Regions from separate parts of the Homo sapiens genome. Here all the other regions are linked to region 7. The links are contacts of gene promoters, found by promoter capture Hi-C in blood cells and fetal thymus (Javierre and others, 2016). All regions are on one chromosome and are shown on one strand. The core of a region is centred on a gene start or on the middle of the fragment in contact, and the rest is flanking DNA. Distances in the headings are between cores, read along the strand shown. Region 1 has its middle 140 kb from the start of LINC02392. Region 2 overlaps LOC105369890 (a long non-coding RNA gene). Region 3 has its middle 170 kb from the start of LINC02392. Region 4 has its middle 77 kb from the start of LINC02392. Region 5 overlaps LOC105369890 (a long non-coding RNA gene). Region 6 overlaps LOC105369890 (a long non-coding RNA gene). Region 7 holds the start of ATP2B1 (ATPase plasma membrane Ca2+ transporting 1).

Region 1 (2,803 bases), core at 238-2,737, 440 kb before region 7:
TGCCTTATTTCAGCAAGGTGGTCTTCAAACTCTTACAACCTTTCTCTGTTTGGTCAATTCAGCTATTGATACTTGTGTATGCTTCATGAAGTTCTCATGCTGTGTTTTTCAGCTCCATCATGTCATTTATTTTCCTCTATAAACTGGTTATTCTAGTTAGCAGCTCCTCTAACGTTTTATCAAGGTTCTTAGCTTCTTTGCATTGGATAGAACATGCTCTTTTAGCTCAACATAGTTTTTTATTACCCATCTTCTGAAGCCTGCTTCTGTCAATTCGTCCATCTCATCCTCCATCAAGTTCTGTGCCCTTGCTGGAGAGATGTTGTGATAATTTGGAGGAGAAGAGGCAGTCTGGCCTTTTGGGTTTTCAGCGTTTCTTCATTGATTCTTTCTCATCTTCGTGAGTTTGTCTAGTTTCCATCTTTGAGGCTGCTGACCCTTGGATGGGATTTTTGTAGGGGCTTTTTTTGTTGTTGATGATGCTATTGTTGTTGCTTTCTGTTTGTTTTTCTTTCAATGGTCAGGTCCCTCTGCCGTAGTGCTGCTGTGGTTTTCTGGGGATTCACTTCAGGCCCTATTCATCTGCTTCACTCCCACACCTGGAGATGTCATTCAAGAAGGCTGGAGAACAGCAAAGATGGGTGCCTGCTCCTTATTCTGGTATCACTGACCTTGAGGTGCACCAACCTGATGCCAGTAGGATCGCTCCTATATAGGGTGCCTGACAACCCCTGTTGGAGGGTCTCACCGAGTTGGGTGGCATAGGGAACAGGATTCGTCATAGGGAACAGCACTTTGCCCCTTGGTGGAGGGGATGTGTTTCACTGGTGGGAAACCCACTTCTCTGGGCTGCCCAGATTCCTCAGAACTACCAGGAGGAAAGGCTAAGTCTGCTGGTCCGCATAGACTGCAGCCACCACTTCCCCTAGGGGCTCAGGCCAAGGGAGATCCAGGTTCTGTCCCTGAGCCTCTGGCTGGAGTTATTGAAGTTCCTTCAGGGACGCCACACCCAGTGAGGAGGGATGAGTCAGGGTCAGGCCTGAAGACACTCTGGCCACAGTCTGCCACTGCTGGTGTGTTGTGCTGTGGGGGACACGTCTGGAGACCAAGTCGTACAGCCTCCCTGGCTCCAGCAGGGGAAAAGCATGGCCTGGAGCTATAAAGATGAATGCTGCCCTTCCCCCACCCAGGAAGCTTAGCAAATTAGGCAGTTGTGAGTCCCAGTGCTGGCTGCTGCCCTTCCCTCAAGGAGTTCAAAGGGCCTAGACAGCACGCAGCTGCAGCTGTGGTGCTGGTTGACACTCCCCACGTGAGCTCAGTAGGCTTAAGCAGATTCCAGCTGAGAGACTGTTGAGAATCTGCATGGCTCTGGGGTTGGGAAGCTAGGCCACAGGGGCATGGGCTCACAAATGGGATTTTCTGATCTGTGGTTTGCACAGTTATGTGGAAAAAGCACAGTTTCCCCGACTTGATAGCCTGCTCACTCACCGCCTCCCTTGGTTTAGGGGTGGGGGCCCCCCTGCCCCGTGTGGTTCTCAGATGGGCTGCCTCACCACACTGCTCTTCCTTCCTCTCTGTGGATCACGCCAGCCTCCTAATCAGTTCTGATGAGAGAACCTGGATACCTTGCTTGCCGGTGAAGCAGTCATACACTTATTATAGTTCTTTTCCATGGGTGCCTCTGATCACAGCTGTTTCTAGTTGGCCATCTTGGCCCTGCCCCCACTAAACATTTACAATTAAAGGTCTCCTTGTTAAGCCTTCTTTGATGCCAAGCTTCAATTCCATTGCATTGTTTGCCAACCTCTGCCTTGATTCCCTGTTTTCTATCAGGATTGTCTTGAGATTTACCCAGTTGCCTGCAATTCACAGGGCTCCACAACAGGGGCTCAGGAGTCTGGGGTACTGCAGGGAACTGGGGATTTGTTGGGCCTAACCAAGGCAGTCAGTCAGTGTGCAGCCCCGCACTCGAGGTCCAGGAGGGAACGATGCTTGATATCAGGACGCAAGCCGCCTCCAGCCCAAGCAGCCCCTCTAGATATTTTATAATGTATTTTAGCACTTTGGAAATAGATATGCCTTTGCCGCTCAGTTTTTTAAAGTTTACTTTCTTTTTTTACATTAAAAGGAAATATTTCATATAAATATACATAAGTACACCTATGTTTTCAATGTATATTTCTGGTAGTCTTAACCAGCCTTAGACATTAAACCAGACCCTAAAGATAAAAGCGTGAATGTAATCAACATAGTTACAGCTTTCATGGAATTAATACCAAAGGGTGGCATGAGATAGTTAGAAAACAGTTAAAACTATAAAAACTAGAGCTAATATCTACATAATTGAGGAGTCTAGCTCCAGGCCATAATCCTATGTGTGATCTTTGAGGCTCAACCATAGGCAATTACAAAGACTTTACCTGGCAGGCCTTGAGAGGGAGAGCTGCCTCCCAACTCCAGACTTCATGCACAGTCATCATCTTTCCGTCTCTGGAAGGAGTTGCAGTCAGGGATTCAGGCTCCTCCAGCTGGCAATGCTCTTAACGCACATCACATTGCTAACAAGGAGCCTCCATTCAGAGGCCATGGCCTTTCCCAGGTGTCTCTGCTTATTTGGGGAGGCTTGAAGACACATTTCCCCACTCTGACTCAGTATTCAGTACTTTCCCTTTCCTAGTCCTTCCCTCTCTCTTCCTTAATCCCCAGCTCCTATGTTCATCACATGGCAGAAGTCTTTTATTTGAGCCAGGGCATAAAGCCAAAAAGTCAAGCTCCAGGACCCTCATTCTTTCAGCCTGTAACA
Region 2 (2,700 bases), core at 161-2,660, 370 kb before region 7:
GTAAAATTATAATGCTCGTTATTTTTAGAATTACAACGTAACCTATATGCTTTTTCTTCCCAGAAGGGCTATTTAACATAGAGTTTCAGAAAGCCGTTAAATTGATGCAGCTACGAAATGGAGTTGGATGTTTGAGGAGACAGAACTAGAAGCTGGGACCTCATAATAAGAAGGTGTCTGCTAAGACCAACAGAACATTTTCCAGATTTAATGGAATGGTCCAAAGAAGAACTGAATGGAAAAGAAGAGCAGAAGAATTAATGTTAAGTGAGTCAGAAATGCACATGGATTTATATTTTGAAAATCAATAAATTAATGTTACCAGGGGAACGGAGTGAGCCAAGAAGAGAGAATTGAAAGAAAGTCATTTCTTGTTTTAAGAACTGAAGAAGAGACCGGACAAACTAAGAAGAATGCAGCAATTCATGCAATTTTTAAGTTTTCATATTTATGGCAAGCTGGAAAGTCGTGTTGTGGTGCCATATTCTATTGCATCAGAATAGCGGCAGAAATATTCATAAAGAAATGCAGGCTCCTTTAATCCTAATAAAACAACAATTGGTCTTTAGGCATAATCAAATACAATCTTGCCAGTTAAAAAATAGCCACAACTGTTCATGAGGTCTAGTCGTACAAAATGGGTTAAAAGGTAAACTGGAATTTGGAACACTTGTGCCTTAGTCATGGGCATTAATGCTGAGTCACTAATAAACAGAATCTGGTGCTTTGAATGGTTCCCATGAATGTTGCTTTCTCAGCCATAAATTGGACATTGAAAAGCATTAAGGAGTCAGCCAACTTTCCTCAATACCTCACCAAGTTTGTAGATTTTTATATTCCTCTTGCCTCCTACACAATAGTATACATATACAAAAATGGTGCATTCTGGCATAGAGCTTAGCTTATCCCACTTCAGATCGACTTCATGACTCAACACAGTGATAACTGTCTATTGACATTTTCACCAAGCCTTCAAGGTAGCAAGTGCATAGAAGAGGCATGGGATGGCCGGGCGCAATGGCTCACGCCTGTAATCCCAACACTTTGGGAGGCCGAGGCAGGTGGATCACAAGGTCAGGAGATCAAGACCATCCTGGCTAACACAGCGAAACCCTGTCTCTACTAAAAATACAAAAAATTAGCCTGGCGTGGTAGCAGGAGCCTATAGTCCCAGCTACTCGGGAGGCTGAGGCAGGAGAATGGTGTGAACCCGGGAGGCGGAACTTGGAGTGAGCCGAGATCGCGCCACTGCACTCTAGCCTGGGCTACGGAGTAAGACTCCATCAAAAAAAAAAAAAAAAAAAGAAGAGGCATGGGATATAAATTATATAAATTAAGTCATTAAAGTGAAAGAATAGAGTGTAATAAAGAAAGATAGGAAAAGAAGAACAGGAATGAAAGGGAAAAGTAAAAAGGACATAGAAATAAAAGGAAGGATGTGATTTGTTTTTTAAAAAAATGGGAGGTGATGTTAGTGAAACACAAGCAGCACTGAACTACATTTGGTAAGAATTTAGTTCAATTAAACAAATATTTAAGTACCAGCAAGGTGTCAGTCACTGTCTGAAGAACTAGGGATATAACGACGTATAGGATCAGGTCCATTATTTAAGGAACTTACAGCTGTTTGGTGCAAGCAGACACTTGTATGTGCATTCAAATATTCAATTGGCAAACTATTTTTTTAGTGACTACTATGTACCACGCACATCTTAGGGGCGTAGCAAACAAAAATCAATGTAGCATCATAAGTTCTATGCTAGCAGTGAGAATAAAATACCATGACAGCACAGAGAAGAGAGTTATGGCTGCCATGATGGGATCATGGAACGCTTCAGCAACTGTTAACATCAGAGGCCTGGCTACTAGTACTGCATCTCACACTTACCAGCTGTGTGACTTTGGACAAGTTTCAAATCACCATCACCCACTGCAATATTGTTAGAAGATGCAGATTTTGTTAATCCTATGAGAATTCTAATAATAGTGCATGCACATCCAAATTCATAGATTAAAACCATTGGAGAAGCAATCCTTTTTACTCCTCTACCCACAAGGGTGACTCTGTAATATTTTTCAAATATAAGACAGTCTACAATTGAGCAACCACTCTATGTAGATCACAGTTTTAGATAACCAGGGTTGAGGACCTAGGGTACATGTAAAGGAAATAGAATACCTGCTCTCTGCCCATCAACCACAGTGATGACAAGCCAATAAACATAATTATGCTGGACATTACTTAATGGGCACTCCATAGCTATTCACTCCCACAACTGTTTATGGTACATTCAAGTGAGTGAATACAAATTTTGCTATTTTGTAGAGGGATAGAGTGTTGAAACTGCTTAAATATTATCTAATCTAACTCCTTCAAACTGAGAGAAAAAGAAGTTGAATGATATTCCCAAATCATAGAACTAGCTAATAAAGTATCTAACATTAATGGCTACTCAACTCAGGCAAGTAGATGATCAGGTTTTGACAGGGAGTTAAAAAGAAAAAGATGATATTCTGCTCCTATGAAAATAGTATGATGATATAGCATTAAGGGAAAGTGTCTCTTGGGACAAAAGTAGGTGATGAGAAATCTAATTACACACACGCACACACACACACATTAGCTTTCAACACTGATAACCCACCTGCTTCTTAAAAATTTTAAAGAAAATATTGAGTGCAAGAGAAGTAGCTCTCAAA
Region 3 (2,700 bases), core at 42-2,541, 410 kb before region 7:
CCATGGTTACAGTCAAGGTTAGCAACTCTGCTCCCCTTCCCCAAGTAGCAGGACTATAGGGAATTTGCATGCTATCTGAGAACAGACTCCCCCTACATTCCACCAATGCTGCTGCAGCCACATAAGCACTCTGCAGAGGAGCCTGAGATCACCCCAATCAGCCCACCACAGCCAGCATCCAAATGCACCACCAGTGGGCCTAAGGACAGGCTTTCTCAGCCTGGTACTGCTCTCCATCCAGTATCCAAGCACATGGCACAAAGGCTTAGGGATTGCACTGCTCTGTCCACCACCACCAGCATCTGTGCATTCCTCCTGGGGACCTGAGAATGTGTTCACCCAACCTGCCACTACTGTCACAGCAAGATGCTGTCACCCATATGTGCCACCTAGAGACTGGCACACTCAGCAAACTGCAGCTGCTGCTAACACAAACATCTGCTGCTTCAGAGCCCAAGGGTTGACTCACCACCACTACTTCCATCTCTTTATGCCATACACATTATGCAGGAGAACAAAGACCTACCATCTGCCCAGCCCACCACTGCCACTGCCAGCATCCCAGCAATCTAGAAGGCCAAGAGTACGCCCATTTGCACCCACTAAAACTCTGTATGCTGACTAGGGGCCCAAGGTTGCATAGCCCACCACTGTCACCAATGGGGCCCAAAGACCAGCCCGCTTTGCATCTTCATCCTCAGCAAAACCCCAACACAGCCTCCACTAACAACTGCAGCATAAGCCACAAAAAAAATCACAAGCACCACTAACATTGTTTACAGCCAAAGAAATCATACAGAGACTACACTACTGCATGCATCCAGAATTAAAGATAAAATGTCCTACCCAACCAACACCATAGATACATCTCCAGGAAAAATATTTCCCATGAAAACTAATCCTCAAAATTTGTAGAAACAACTATGACACCAGATATCAATGTAGGGACTCAAGAAACACAAAAAAGAAACAAAGAAAATTACACTTCCATAGGAACACAATAATTATTCAGCAACAGATTCTAAAGAAAAAATAATTTTATGAAATCCCAGGAAAAGAATTCAAAATAATAATATTTAAAAAGCCCTGTGAGATACAGAAAAACAAAACAGATAAACAATACAAAGAAATCAGATTAAAAATTCAGGACATGAGTGAGAAATTTATCAGAGAGATAGATATCATTTAAGAAACCAGAAATAAGATATCTTAGAGCTGAAGAATTCAGTGAATGAAACAAGAAATTCATTTGAGAGTTTCAGCAATAGACAAGAGTAAGCAGAAGAATCTCAGAACTTGAAGACAGTCTTTGGAAATAACTCTGTAAAACTAAAAACAAACAAACAAAAAACACCCCAAAACAAACAAAAACAAAGAATAAAATGCATGAAACAGCCTATGTGACATATGGGACACTATAAAGCAATTAAATATGTAAATTTTGGATATTTCAGAAAGTGAAGAGACCAAAGTCATGGAAAATCTATTTAATGAAATGATAACTGAAAACATCCCAAGTCTAGCAAAAGATTTAAACATTCAGATACAGGAAGCTCAGAGATCTCCAAATAGATGCAACCCAAAAAGTTACATTTTGTCCTTTCCCAGACACACTATAATCAAGTTGTCAAAAATCAGGTAAAGAGAGAATTATGAAAATAGCAACAGAAATGTGTCTAGTCATTTATAAGGGAAACCCCATCAGACTAACATCAGATATCTCAGCAGAAACCTTACAGGCCAGGAGTGCTGGAAAAAAAGGCCTACAAACCAAGAATACCATGCCCAGAAACATTTATCGTTCATAAATAAAGGAGAAATAAAGTCTTTCTCAGACAAGCAAAAACTGAGGTAATTCATTACTCCTAGACCAACTCTACAATATATGCTTCAGGGAGTCCTACACCTGAAAGTGAAATGACAGATCAATTATCATGAAAATCCACAAAAGCATAAAATGTACTGCCAAAGCAAACATACAAAAGAAGAAAAGGACATAAATATTACCACCACAGAAAATGACCAAACCACAATGATAAATAAGACAGAAATAAAGAAACAAAGAATATACAAAACAACCATAAAACCAACAACAAAATAATGGGAATAAGTACTCATCTACCAATAATAACCTTGAATGTAAATGAATTTTCCACTTAAAAGATACAGACTGGCTAAATGGATTTTTTTTTTAATGACCCAACTACATGCTGCCTATAAAAAACTCACTTCTCTGTGAAGACACGTAAGACTCAAAGTGAAAGGATGGAAAAAGATACTCCACACAAATGGAAATTAAAAGCAAGCAGGAGTAGCTATACTTATATCAGATAAAACAGACTTTAAGTCAAAAACAGTAAAAAAAAAAAGACAAAAGCTCATTAAATAATGATAAAGTAATCAATTCATTAAGAGGATGTGACTATTCTAAGTTTATAATGCACCCAACACGGAGCACCCATATTCATAAAGCAAATATTACTGGATCTAAAGAAAGAGATATATTTCAATACAGTAACAGTCAGTGACTTCCACACCACATTCTCAGCATTAGACAGATTATCTAAACAGAAAATAAACAAAGAAACATTGGACTTAAATTAGACTTTAGATGAAATGTACCTAATAGACATTTACAGAAAATTTTATCCAAAAACTACAAAAACGTGTTCCTCCTATCGGCACATAGAACACTGTCCA
Region 4 (2,877 bases), core at 161-2,660, 510 kb before region 7:
TATATATATCAAATTACATATATTATATTATATATAAAATTATATATGTGCCAGATATAAATTATTATTTAATATATAATAGGCTGGGCGCAGTGGCTCACGTCTGTAATCCCAGCACTTTGGGAGGCTGAGGCGGGCGGATCACGAGGTCAGGAGATCAAGATCATCCTGGCTAACACGGTGAAACCCCGTCTCTACTAAAAATACAAAAAATTAACTGGGCGTGGTGGCGGGCACCTGTAGTCCCAGCTACTCAGGAGGCTGAGGCAGGAGAATGGCGTGAACCCAGGAGATGGAGCTTGCAGTGAGCCAAGATCGTGCCACTGCACTCCAGCCTGGACGACAGAGCAAGACTCCGTCTCAAAAAAGAATATATATATATAATAAAATATATATTATAAATATAAGTATAATATATAATTGTTACATATTTATAACATCATATTATAAATGTTATTATTATTATTTTAAAGAATGGCCTCATGAATCATCATTTATATCATAAATGTTATATATACACAAATATAAATATATAAATAAAATAGAAATATATATTATATATATTCACATATGTCAGATATATGTAATTATATATAGTATATATTTTAAGTATTTTTTTAATTGCCCAATGGGCTTTTCTTGCCCACTGCACAAAAAAAAATCAATTCACTGAGACTGCAGCATTGCAGTAGAGAAACAGTTTAATTGATTAGAGGCCAGCCACATGGGAGAACTAGAGTTATCACTCAAATTGGTCTTCCTGAAAGCTTGAAAGTTAAGGTTTTTATGAAGCATTTTGTGGGCAGGTGGCTAGGAAATGAGTGCTGCTGATTGGTTGAAGATGAAATCATAGGAGTGTGGAAAACAATTCTTGTGTGCTGAGTTCTCCTCTGAGTGGGGGCCACAGGACCAGTTGAGTCATGAGTCACAGGTCTTGGCAGGGTCAGTCACTTGCCAGGAAGTTTGAAAAGATTCTCAAAAGACCATTGAGGTTCCACAATAGTGATGTTATTTATAGGAGAAATTGAGGAAGTCACAAATTCTGTCATCTCTGGCCACATGAGACCTGAGCAGTAAAACATTACAGAAATTATGCCTATGTCTTAACAGAATACAGTCCTCTCTTATAATCTAACCTCGTGGTCTCTCATTCATTTTTCAAAGGTGGTTTAGTTTTTGGAAGGGCTATTATCATTCTTGCTTTAAAGTTAAACTATAAACTAAATTCCTCCAAAAGTTAGCTTGGCCCATGCCCAGGATTGAGTAAGGACAGCTTGTAGGTTAAAAGCAAGGTAGACTTAGAGGAGCTTGGAGCTTGGGGGTTAGAAGCAAGCCAGATTTATCTTACTGTTATAATTTTGCAAAGGTGGTTTCATTTTCTTCTCTCTTGTATTTTCTTACCATGTAACAAAAGATGTAACTTTACATCATCATGTTTAAGTATTATTAATTATGTATTGTAGTTTTTAAGTTGTTGGATAGCAAGTAGAAGAGTAAACACACTCAAGAATTTTATCTCCTCTTCTTGGAAAGGAATTAGTGCATTTTTGGTTGTAAGCAGGACAGCTGTATCATGTTAGGTAAAATTATGACTTTGTTATTTTCTTTATTTGGAAAATAAGTATGCTTTAAGGAAATGTAGATGGATGCCAAGTTGACAAGGGGTGGACTTATTATAGTTGATTTTATGTGTCAACTATAATGTTCCAACATTTCTGACAATTTTAGGAATAGTCGATTTATTAAAGCACTTATTTTTCTCCAAGCCAATCAGAATAGAGCTCTTTTACTAATTTGGTCATGACACTCAGAGGTTGGAAAGTACACATACACTTAACATACGTACAGACAGAGAGACAGTTGCAAGTAGAGATCTTTATGGCTTTCATTCCAAAAACTTAGCTATGCATCAAGCGTAAGTATACTAATATAAAACTCACTAGTATGTATTTGGGTTGGTTTTCGTCTTTGCTTCACTGTGTATTTTTATCCAAATTACATTTCTGACAAATGGAACAAGTTGTTACTTGCTCAATATAAGGGCTAAAGCTTTTTTATGAATATTTGTAAAGGAGATTTTTAAATTTTCATATGTAATATTATGGAGACTGTGAACAACTTAATAAATTTAAGGTGAAGGGGCTAAGGATGCAGTAAGCGGTCACCTGCATGCCTCCAAAGTCCATCTGAGTGGATAATATCCAGTCTATTTTATTTATCCTCTTTAGCACCAGATCTTTTCTTCTGGGGTCTCTTGAAAGACCCCAGTGCCCTAAAGTACCAATGACTCTAGGGAGTTGAGAGACTGGAGAAAGAAAAGAAAGGTCTTAGAGGAATAAGTTTTCTCAAAGAAGCCATTGAACTTTTAAATGATCCTTGGAAAAGTCATGCCGAAAAGAAAGGAAGCAGACAGTGGCAGCACTGTAATGGTGGAGCACATAGTCATAGGGGTTTTATGAAGGCTGTTGGCAGGTTTCACTTTACTGAGAAGTTCCCATGAGAGAGCAGGGTAGGGTACGGAGAACAAAGAAGGCTGAAAACAAAAAGTCAAGAAGAAAAATTTTAATGTAAGAGGTACCTTCTCCCAAACAAAGCAGCCTGGATTCTAACCCAGCTTCAGAAAGTATACTCATTCCAAATGTGACTCAAATCAATAAGCCTTTTTATGGCTTATCCATGCACAGAAGAGGTGTCCCCAGAGAAGGTGCGGAATATAATGATCTCATGTATAAGTAAAGCTTTTCTATGTTCCTGGTAATTTGTCTGATGTTAGCTAATTTTCAGATCCTTGATTATTTGCACCTAAGCAGGTAAAGTTGGATACAGCTTTTCCTCTACCCGCTTAGTTCCAAATAGTGGATGCAGCCACCATGATCT
Region 5 (2,739 bases), core at 83-2,582, 390 kb before region 7:
ATATACACACATACCCCATCAGAACTCAGATTTAGAAATGAAATATGAAGTATATTCAGGGACCCTATGTAACTTTTCCCTGACCTAGAGCAATGAAGAGCTTTAATAAGTATGGGCAGTTTGAAATGAACCTGAGAGTCATATTTGCCTGTCAGCAGGTTTGTGTACTTCATCTTGAAGGTTAGCTCTTGGCAACCACTTGAGAATTTTTCCTATATGAAGTTTACCAACCAAAGGACTCACCCTTAAAGACAATCTTGTCTTTCAGTGATCTTAATCCAGTAATTACTCCCACACTTCCTCTTCCACCTCCTATTTGAATAATGGAAAATCCTTTCATTTCTTCTGAGTAACTTCTGCCATCTGGTTTTTCAGGGATTTCCTGCAATAGAGAGCAAGGAGCTAGTGAAGTTAGGTTTTTGTTGTTGCTGTTGTTTTCCATTTCCCCCAGCAAACCATACAAAGTCATGAGACTCTGGTACAGTCAGCACAGATGTCTTCTCTCACTTCATAAACCTGATCATAGTATCTCTACTTAAAAAGAAACCTATCAACAACAATCATTACTCTCTTATGATAGTTTTTGCTTCCAATTGGCTGCAATAACCGCATGCCTTTACTATCATGCCCCAAAAAGCTCACATAGTATTAAATATTCAACAATATCCACCAGCAGCACACCAATATGTATATTATCTCATTATTTTGCCCACATTTGCCTATTCTATTATTACTATTTCCTTATTTCCTTACTATTTAAAATAAATCCAATCAACTATTTCTGGGCTCTTCCCTATTTGGATTGTTGCCTTGAGATGCATAGATGAGCCTCCTTTTCTTATTAGGTGCCACTCAGATTGGCTTTTAACTTATTATTTTTTCTGTTTCTCTGGATCTGTTTTTATTCCCCACTGCTATGCTCCTACCTTTGTTGGCTGACTGATGGCTCCATCGGTGACTCCCTTTTCTCTTTTTCATTCCCTAAGCCAGTCACTTAGCATGTAACCACAGTTTAACCATTTCCCATTCACTGCAGCCCCATTCCAAAGCCTATTGAAAAACTTGCCCACATTGGAAAAAAAAAAAAAAACCGAAAGGAGATTCCAAACAAATCAAGTATATTAAAAGAAAAAAAAGGTGAAAATATATATTGAGTGAGGACCTTATGATGTAATCATCCAAGCATCTCTAAAACATTAGGTATTGGAGTTGGAACATGAAAATTCAGAGATAAATGACTGACGCTCATGTACATTTATAGTGTGTGTGGATATGGTGCTGTACATTGAATATTAAAGGATAGCCGATCTGCACCGAACATGTTGAAAGAGTTTTTCAATAGTAGACAATCCACTGTTTACAACTTTACCCTCTGCCTGGGAAAATCAATGTCCATTCTCAAGCAATCTGCTGCCCTGGTTATAGCAGTTCCGGTTCAAAGGAGGTTTGCATTTAGATGCTTGATCTTTCTGTCCCACTCTAGATTTTTGGAATGGTGCATTTTGTGATCATGATTTTTCTCCTGATTCCATTTCCTTATGTCATTTAAGAACATGAGGCTTTTTAGTATGACTCACTGAATAGCAAATATAGCATCTTAGTGAACTGCAGTTTTTCCTAATCAGAACATAAACTTGCTCTGTAATATCAGACTGAGACAGGAAAGAAAACACAAAGAAAAATGGCCACTGAATCACCCTGAGCTCTGAAGGAAAGGTGTCAAGGTACTTATTAAGAATCACACTATACTTCTTTAATATTCTCAATATTATCAGGTAGTTATAACACTTCAATTTTTATCCCAGATCCTAAGTGAACTGAGATACAAATTGTCTTTAATCCCAAACCACCAAAGCCTATTTTAAGTAGAAACTTCGGGGCAGATACATTCTTCAACTGTCTTTATATATCCTGGTAGAAAGGGGTACACAAGAAGAATAACCATGGATCAGCCAGGTGTAGTGGCTCACGCCTGTAATCCCAACACTGAGAGACCGAGGCAGGTGGATCACTTGAGGTCAGGAGTTCAAGACAAGCCTGGCCAACATGATGAAACCCTGTCTCTCCTAAAAATACAAAAATTAGCTGGGCACAGTAGTGCACATCTGTAATCCCAGTTACATGGGAGGCTGAGGCAAGATAATTGCTTGAACCCAGAAGACGGAGTTTTCTGGAGGTTGCAGTGAGCCGAGATCATGTCACTGCACTCCAGCCTGGGTGAGAGGGTGAGACTTCATCTCAAAAAAAAAAAAAGGAATAACCAGAGACTATGTGTAAAGAGGGCTTCCAGGAAGTCAGTAGTATCAGGAGAAGACCTAAACTGGGCAGCTATTCTAGGATATAATTCCAAGAGCCAGTCTAGTCATCTTTCTTTTTGCTCAGCTTCCTCCTCTCTCTCCATCAGCAGGAAGGATTCTAAACCCTGACCAAGCAATTCCAGTCAGGATAAGCTCTGCCTTTAGCCATGGGAGAGAAGCTCAGCTTCTCTGGGCCCTTGCCCTATGGCATTTGCCTGGTAGCAGGATTTCCAAGAATAACTACTGTCTGTGGTTTTCTCAAACCCTACTCCCTAGAGAAACCAGGGAGTGTAAACTTTTTTGGTCTCAAGGTGGTTTTAAGCATCAGCAAATGTTTGCTTTGAACTTTAGCCAGCATCTTATTTTATCCAAATGAACTCTCGAATCTCAATTTATACAAACTAAAATGCCCACCAGACAGATCAGTAAGTTCCTATTCTGT
Region 6 (2,886 bases), core at 161-2,660, 350 kb before region 7:
TAGATTAATTTACTGGGTAGGACATTTGCAGGGACTGCTGTTTATTGCTGATAAATATAGCTTGCTTATTTAAGCTCTTTACCTTGTTCTAACCCTGCTGAGAGATCTTCTGAAGCAAGAAGCTTTAGAATGGCACAGGCAGGTAATGGGCTGACAGCACTGGACAACCTCTTATTGGAGGCACCATGATAGGTAATTAAGCAACCACCGTCACTCAAGGTCAAATGATCCTTAATCTAAAAACAATCTCTAAATGACATAAGAACAGCTTTAACCATAACATCCACTGCATTTGAGGTCCTATTTCATCTATCTGCAGAGCAAAGTCAGTAATATGAGACTCATAAACCAAGCAGGGTTGCAAATCCTCTTATGCTACCCACAAGAAATGAAGGGAGTGGGGGAAAGCATTGTTTTGAAATTTCACTTATGCAAAGAAATGAGAAAATAGTTCATAAGATGATTGTTCTGTGTAAGCAGTGGTCAAATAATGTTATTTGATGGAAATTGTTTTCTTTGCTTGCTTCCTGAACCCTCCATTTAACATTTCTAGGAAATCATTCTGATGGAAAAGGTCAAATATATACAAAAATAAAATTAGGCCTATTAATCATATTTTGTAATTGGATAACTTGAACATTTTTATTCAAAGAGAAGCTTCCTAATTCTACCCTATACCTTTAGTTCCTCAGAATTTAAAACAGAAATTAACTTCAATGACTCACATTTCTGTATGGAGTTTTATGCCTCAGAATATGTTATACTTATATTTATTTGTGTAACTAAAGGGAAGAAGCAATTATTTGGATAATGTTAAAAAAACTGGAATTTTAACTTCAGTTTGTCAGAGACAAAAGCACTGCAGATTTAATTCTTCTCAAACTTTAATGTGAATACAAATCACCTGGGTATCTTGGTAAAATGCAGATTCCAGTGTAGCAGGTTTGGCGTAAGGCCTGAAAACCAGCATTTCTAACAGGCAACCAAGTGACACCTATTCTCAATCAAGGTTCACACTCTGAACAGTAAGATTATAGAATTTTCTATTATACCTGCAGGGTTTCTAAAGAGCGGATAATGATAGGACAAGTGAAAAATTAATTTTTTAGATCTATTTTCTTATCCTCCACTTTCATTTGCATACATAGACATATCTAATGTTTTAAAATCAACTAATGAATGTGGTTTATCCTTTTGAATGCGTAAAATGATACAAATGCAAAATGATCACTATTATGATTTGTATTAAGCTTTGTATCAACATCTAATGCACTTCTTATTAATTCATGGACTACTAATTTAATCTTCTTACTGTGATCAGTCAACAAGTAAACCATTCTCAGACTGTTGAGGAAATGCAAATTTTAATATAACCAATCAAAACATTCAGTTAGGTTACACTGAATAGTTTATAACTAGTAGAGTAAAAAGATTGTTTTAAATTGGAAATGCACTAAAAGTAACATTTTCTTTGTTGAGCTAAAAAATTAGCATATTTACTTAAAATGCTGACTCAGACCTTGGCCAGGCCATTGACTTCACTGAGGAGTTCAAACTGTGTTAAAGCTTTTAATAAAACTCTGGGGGAAATTCCACTGCTACACAATGAAATTCCATTACGTATGACTTATTTTTGGCTCCCCAGTTGATAATAAAACATATTAAATGGCATTTCCCTTTATTTTTTTCCTGAGGCTCAGTTTTTATACCACTATGTATTCTTCAAGAATGTTTTAACTTAAAAGTATTTTTTATTTTGTTCTTCAAGAAGTACTAAGATATGTAAATTTTGTTATTGTAATTATGTCATAGTGGATCAAAAATTATGTATTGGCAATTACCCTGCTTAACAATTGCCAAAAATATTCTACTGTTTATGGTGTTGAAATGCCAAGGAAGAACTTTATGCAGAAAAGATTCACATTTCTGAAGTGTTGAACATAGTTAGTAACCAATATGTATTTTTGTGCGACCCTGATCCTTCAATGGTTGTTTGAGGATTACTGCAATGGGTCTAAAGACTATCAACTTTAAGAGAAGAAATAACATACATTAAAAAAAAAGTCAGGCCGGGTACCCTGGCTCACTCCTGTAATCCCAGCTCTTCGGGAGGCCAAGGCAAGTGGATCACGAGGCCAGGAGTTCAAGCCCAGCTGGCCAACGTGGTGAAATCCTGTCTCTACTAAAAACACAAAAACTAGCTGGGTGTGGTGACACTTGCCTGTAGTCCCAGGTATTCAGGAGACTAAGGCATGAGAATCGCTTGAACTTGGGAGGTGGAGGTTGCAGTAAGCCAAGATCACACCACTGCACTCCAGCCTGGGTGACAGAGCAAGACTCAGTATCAAAAAAAAAGGAAAGAGAAAAATGTCAGGTTTAATGTTTTTATTTATATCAAGTAGCTATTACACAGTAGACCCTTAATAAAAGTTTGATCATCATATGAATTATAAAATTAACATTTATAGTAAGTTTTACAGTTAGTTTCTCTCACAAAACCAGGTTTAATAGGTAAGAAACACACAAAAAATGTTACCCAGATCCCGTCAAGGAATGACTTTTTGTTCCTACTACTGAGAGAGCCATCAGGAAGCATCCTTCAACTGACAGCCCCTTCAAGGATCAGACCCCCTACATCCTTCCCAGGTGGCACTCATCCAGTGACTGATGGAGGCAGGGGTATGAAGGTCCAGGCATTTCAGATCAATGCAGGACAAACCCGACCTTGACTTTTCCCTACGCCATTCTGATTTTGCCTCCTTAGTTTTCATGGGTGTTGATACCAAGAGCCTTCTCTAATAATTCAGCAAATTAACTTTCTGCTTGCCAGAAACCCAACCTGGCACCACAGGCATTATTGTCCTCATCTTACAGATAATAAAACAA
Region 7 (2,905 bases), core at 347-2,846:
ACCTTTGAGCATCGAAATACCGCAAGTTATCCCGTTTCCTTTTCCCCTCAGGAAAGATGGGTGCAGGGTTGAGATGTTACAAGAGAATTAAAAGAGAGCCACCAGCTTGGCATAGTAGAAGAAACAAACCCAAAATGAAAACACCCGGATTTTAAGCGCGGATCCTGCGAGGCCGGTTTGCACTGGCCGAACGCCTGCGTTAACCCTTTGGGCGCCGCAGCTGGGATCCCCGGTGTTTGCGGACCCGACCGGCAGGAACAGAGATGGAGTGTCCCGCGCCCGCATGGGGAGTGAGCTCTCTTCCCCAAAGAGGGAGCGAGCCGAGAAGCACTTTTTCCTCCGGTGCGTGCGTCACGGCCCGGGACAGGCGTCGAGTCCGGTTTGGAGTGGGGGCAGAGACGCGGCGAGGAGCCGCTCAAATGTCCGCTGACTGGGGGTTCGCCTTAATCTGTCCTCGCCAGGAGCGCTCGCCCTCGCCCTCCCGCTGGCTCGCTCCTGGGCCCTGGAGGGGCATGGGCCCGGGGGCGGTTCGGGAGGGGCCCCAGGTGAAGGGCGCCCGCACTTCTCCTGCGGCAATCATCGCTCTCCTGCCTCCACACGTCGCGGCAGCGGCCCGGCCCCGCGCCGAAACAGCAGCTGTGACTGACGGAGTCACCTCCCCGCGCGCCTGGCCACCCCCTCCTCCCCCGCCGCTCCCTCCTGCACCAACACGTCATGGAAACACGGACGTCAGAGCCTCTCAGCCAATCGCAGGCTGCGGCAGGAGGGAAGGGGCGCGCTGGAGGGGGCGGGGGCAGCGGCAAGCCAAGGCGCTCAGGGGAAGGAAGAAAGGGAGGGGCGTGCGGAGGCGCAAGTCCCCACCTCCGCCCCTCACTCCGGCCACCCTTTCCCGACCGCGCGGCAAGTTCTAATCGCCAGGCGCGCGCTCGCCAGCCGAGGGCGCGCTCGCCGGGTCCTCCCCTTAAACGCCCTCCCAGTGCCGCTCAGCTCCCAGTCCCGGTCCGAGCCGCGGTTCCTCCGCGCGCGCGCGCGCGCACTCGCCCGCCCCCAGGCTCCCCGCGGATCGCGTCACGTGACCGCGCTCAGCCAAGGCGGCAGCGGCGGCGGCGCGAGCTTCGGCGGCGGTGGCGGCTGTGGCAGCGGGAGCAGCTGCGCCGCCAGCGTGGAGCGGGAGGCGTGTGGGTGTGGAGAAAAGGGAGCGCCAGACCGGAACGGGTGAGCGTTCTCCTCCCCCTGCCTACCCCGGCAATCTTGCAGGCCACCCGGTGCAGACGGGGTCCCTGCCCGGAGCTGCGCGCAGCCCCCTCGTGCTCGGCCGTCCGCTCTCCGGTGCCCGCGGGCCCCGCCCCGAGTGGGGCGGGCTGCGGCGCTCACGGAGGTGGCTGCACCCCGCCCGCGGCTGCTGTTGCGGACGGCGGCGTGAGGCCGGCTGAGCTGCCCGTGCCGAGCGAGCGCGGCGCGCCCTGTGTGCCGCTCTGCGGAGCCGAGGAGGCGGGTCCTGCGGGGACGCGGGCGGCCACTCGGTGGCTGCCGGGCTCTGGGCGGGGACGGCCGGGCGCCGCCTCCTCCTCCTTCGCTGCCGCCGCCGCCTCCTCGCAGTGCAGCGTGAGTAGGGAGCCCCGGCTGGTGGACGCCGAGCCTCTCGGCTCCTTGGCCGCCCCATCCCCGAGGTGCAGCTGCACCTCCGCGTGGCGCCCCGAGCCCTGCGAGCCGGCTGCGGACGCGCTGAGGACGGAGCCCCCATCCTCTGCGTTTCCCGCTGCCCCTTAACGCCCCGCGACCCTCCCGCAGCCTGCCTTTCCTTCCCCCTCGGAAAATGGTTCCCACTGCCGGGCGAGGTGAGTGGCGGCCGCCGCCCGCCCGCGGCCGGGGGCGGCGGGGCAGGTCACCTGCGGGGGAGGCCAGGCGGAGCACGGAGGTCGGGCGTCGCGGCGGGGATCCTGATAGCTGGGTGCGCAGCGGGTTGCGCCGGATTCGGGAGAAGCTGACGGGGGCGGTCGGGGCCCCTCGCAGGTTGCCTCTTGCCGGGAGATTGTGAAGGTGAGCGGGCTTCTCGCCGTGCACCTCAGCGCCGGGTCAGTCTGGGAGTCGCTGCTCCGGGCCCGAGGGATGGGGCTTGTTGGGGCTTCTGGTCTACACCCGCAGGTCTTCGGCTTCACGAAGCCGCCTCGGCCGCGCCACAGCCCATCCCGCCACCGGTCGCCCCCGCCACGGCGCGTGGTGACCTTGAGGGCACCGTGCCCGGCACTCCCTCTCCCCGCGCCCCGGGAGGGTCACCCCTCTAATCCTTGGCCTCGGCCCCCCAGACGCACTGCGGGAGGGGAGCGGGGGCCCCTGGTCGGCCCCTGGCCCTGGTGGTTGATTGTTGGCGTGTCAGGACGGTGATTCCTCGGGAGTTGGAGAGCCGCCTGGTCTTTCTCCTCACGCCTTCCGTCTGGCCCCCCAGGATGTTCACAGTTGTTTCCGATTCGTGTTTATTCACTTAGTTTAAGAGAAAAAAGCCTGCGCCCCCACCTCCCTTTTTGAGGAAGGAGTCTGTAGGAGGACCGCGTTCCAGTGGCAGGGGTGTGGGGTGGGGGCTGTGCTCTCTTTATCCCATCCTGCGGGAGAATCCTGTGGCTAAGCTGGTTAGCGACCCCTGGTTCTGCGCCGCGGTCACCAGCCAGGTTGGTCTCTGTGCGCATTTCATTCACCAGTTTTCTGCGGGACTCGCAGCGCTGGGAGTGCTCGCACCCTGTGCGCTGCTTGGCTCGGAGGGGAGGGCAGGGCGTCCGGGTGGGTTAAAGGGGTCTGCAGGTACTTGGAGGGCTCGACCCTCCTCGACAGGCTGATATTTACCTTTTCTTTGGGTTAGAGCGCTGCAGACAGCCACCTTTCGCTTCTGTGCCCGCTACTTTTCTTGGTT

Evidence for each region. Contacts are between HindIII fragments. The CHiCAGO score rates a contact against its expected background, and 5 or more counts as called.
Region 1: a contact is called between a fragment that was not itself captured here and the fragment with the promoter of ATP2B1 in region 7, in 1 of 17 cell types (fetal thymus). The highest score is 7.3, in fetal thymus.
Region 2: a fragment that was not itself captured here is called in contact with the fragment with the promoter of ATP2B1 in region 7 in 3 of 17 cell types (total B cells, non-activated CD4 T cells and naive B cells); the score reaches 6.5 in total B cells.
Region 3: a fragment that was not itself captured here is called in contact with the fragment with the promoter of ATP2B1 in region 7 in 1 of 17 cell types (monocytes); the score reaches 6.0 in monocytes.
Region 4: a fragment that was not itself captured here is called in contact with the fragment with the promoter of ATP2B1 in region 7 in 1 of 17 cell types (M0 macrophages); the score reaches 5.9 in M0 macrophages.
Region 5: a fragment that was not itself captured here is called in contact with the fragment with the promoter of ATP2B1 in region 7 in 11 of 17 cell types (total CD4 T cells, total B cells, non-activated CD4 T cells and 8 more); the score reaches 12.1 in total CD4 T cells.
Region 6: a contact is called between a fragment that was not itself captured here and the fragment with the promoter of ATP2B1 in region 7, in 3 of 17 cell types (total CD8 T cells, total CD4 T cells and total B cells). The highest score is 7.8, in total CD8 T cells.

The regions. Positions count from the first base shown.
Region 1 is chr12:90,151,804-90,154,606 of GRCh38, reverse strand. No RefSeq gene overlaps it. Among named protein-coding and RNA genes, the nearest start is that of LINC02392, 140 kb to the left of the region's middle. The HindIII fragment of the contact is 582 bases long and covers 1,197-1,778 here.
Region 2 is chr12:90,082,211-90,084,910 of GRCh38, reverse strand. All of the region lies in intron 10 of LOC105369890 (a long non-coding RNA gene), which reads right to left. Among named protein-coding and RNA genes, the nearest start is that of LINC02399, 140 kb to the right of the region's middle. The HindIII fragment of the contact is 3,803 bases long and covers 1-2,700 here.
Region 3 is chr12:90,119,402-90,122,101 of GRCh38, reverse strand. No RefSeq gene overlaps it. Among named protein-coding and RNA genes, the nearest start is that of LINC02392, 170 kb to the left of the region's middle. The HindIII fragment of the contact is 8,320 bases long and covers 1-2,700 here.
Region 4 is chr12:90,215,107-90,217,983 of GRCh38, reverse strand. No RefSeq gene overlaps it. Among named protein-coding and RNA genes, the nearest start is that of LINC02392, 77 kb to the left of the region's middle. The HindIII fragment of the contact is 1,282 bases long and covers 770-2,051 here.
Region 5 is chr12:90,098,346-90,101,084 of GRCh38, reverse strand. LOC105369890 (a long non-coding RNA gene) reads right to left here. Exons shown (of 13, transcript XR_001749246.2): 11 at 244-382. Among named protein-coding and RNA genes, the nearest start is that of LINC02399, 150 kb to the right of the region's middle. The HindIII fragment of the contact is 3,931 bases long and covers 1-2,739 here.
Region 6 is chr12:90,057,606-90,060,491 of GRCh38, reverse strand. All of the region lies in intron 8 of LOC105369890 (a long non-coding RNA gene), which reads right to left. Among named protein-coding and RNA genes, the nearest start is that of LINC02399, 110 kb to the right of the region's middle. The HindIII fragment of the contact is 316 bases long and covers 1,253-1,568 here.
Region 7 is chr12:89,707,529-89,710,433 of GRCh38, reverse strand. ATP2B1 (ATPase plasma membrane Ca2+ transporting 1) reads left to right here and starts at 1,596. Exons shown (of 21, transcript NM_001366521.1): 1 at 1,596-1,838. ATP2B1-AS1 (ATP2B1 antisense RNA 1) reads right to left here and starts at 1,479. Exons shown (of 1, transcript NR_028138.1): 1 at 1-1,479. RefSeq lists silencers at 358-907, 928-1,947, 2,098-2,327 and enhancers at 2,518-2,617, 2,628-2,717. The HindIII fragment of the contact is 7,681 bases long and covers 1-2,905 here.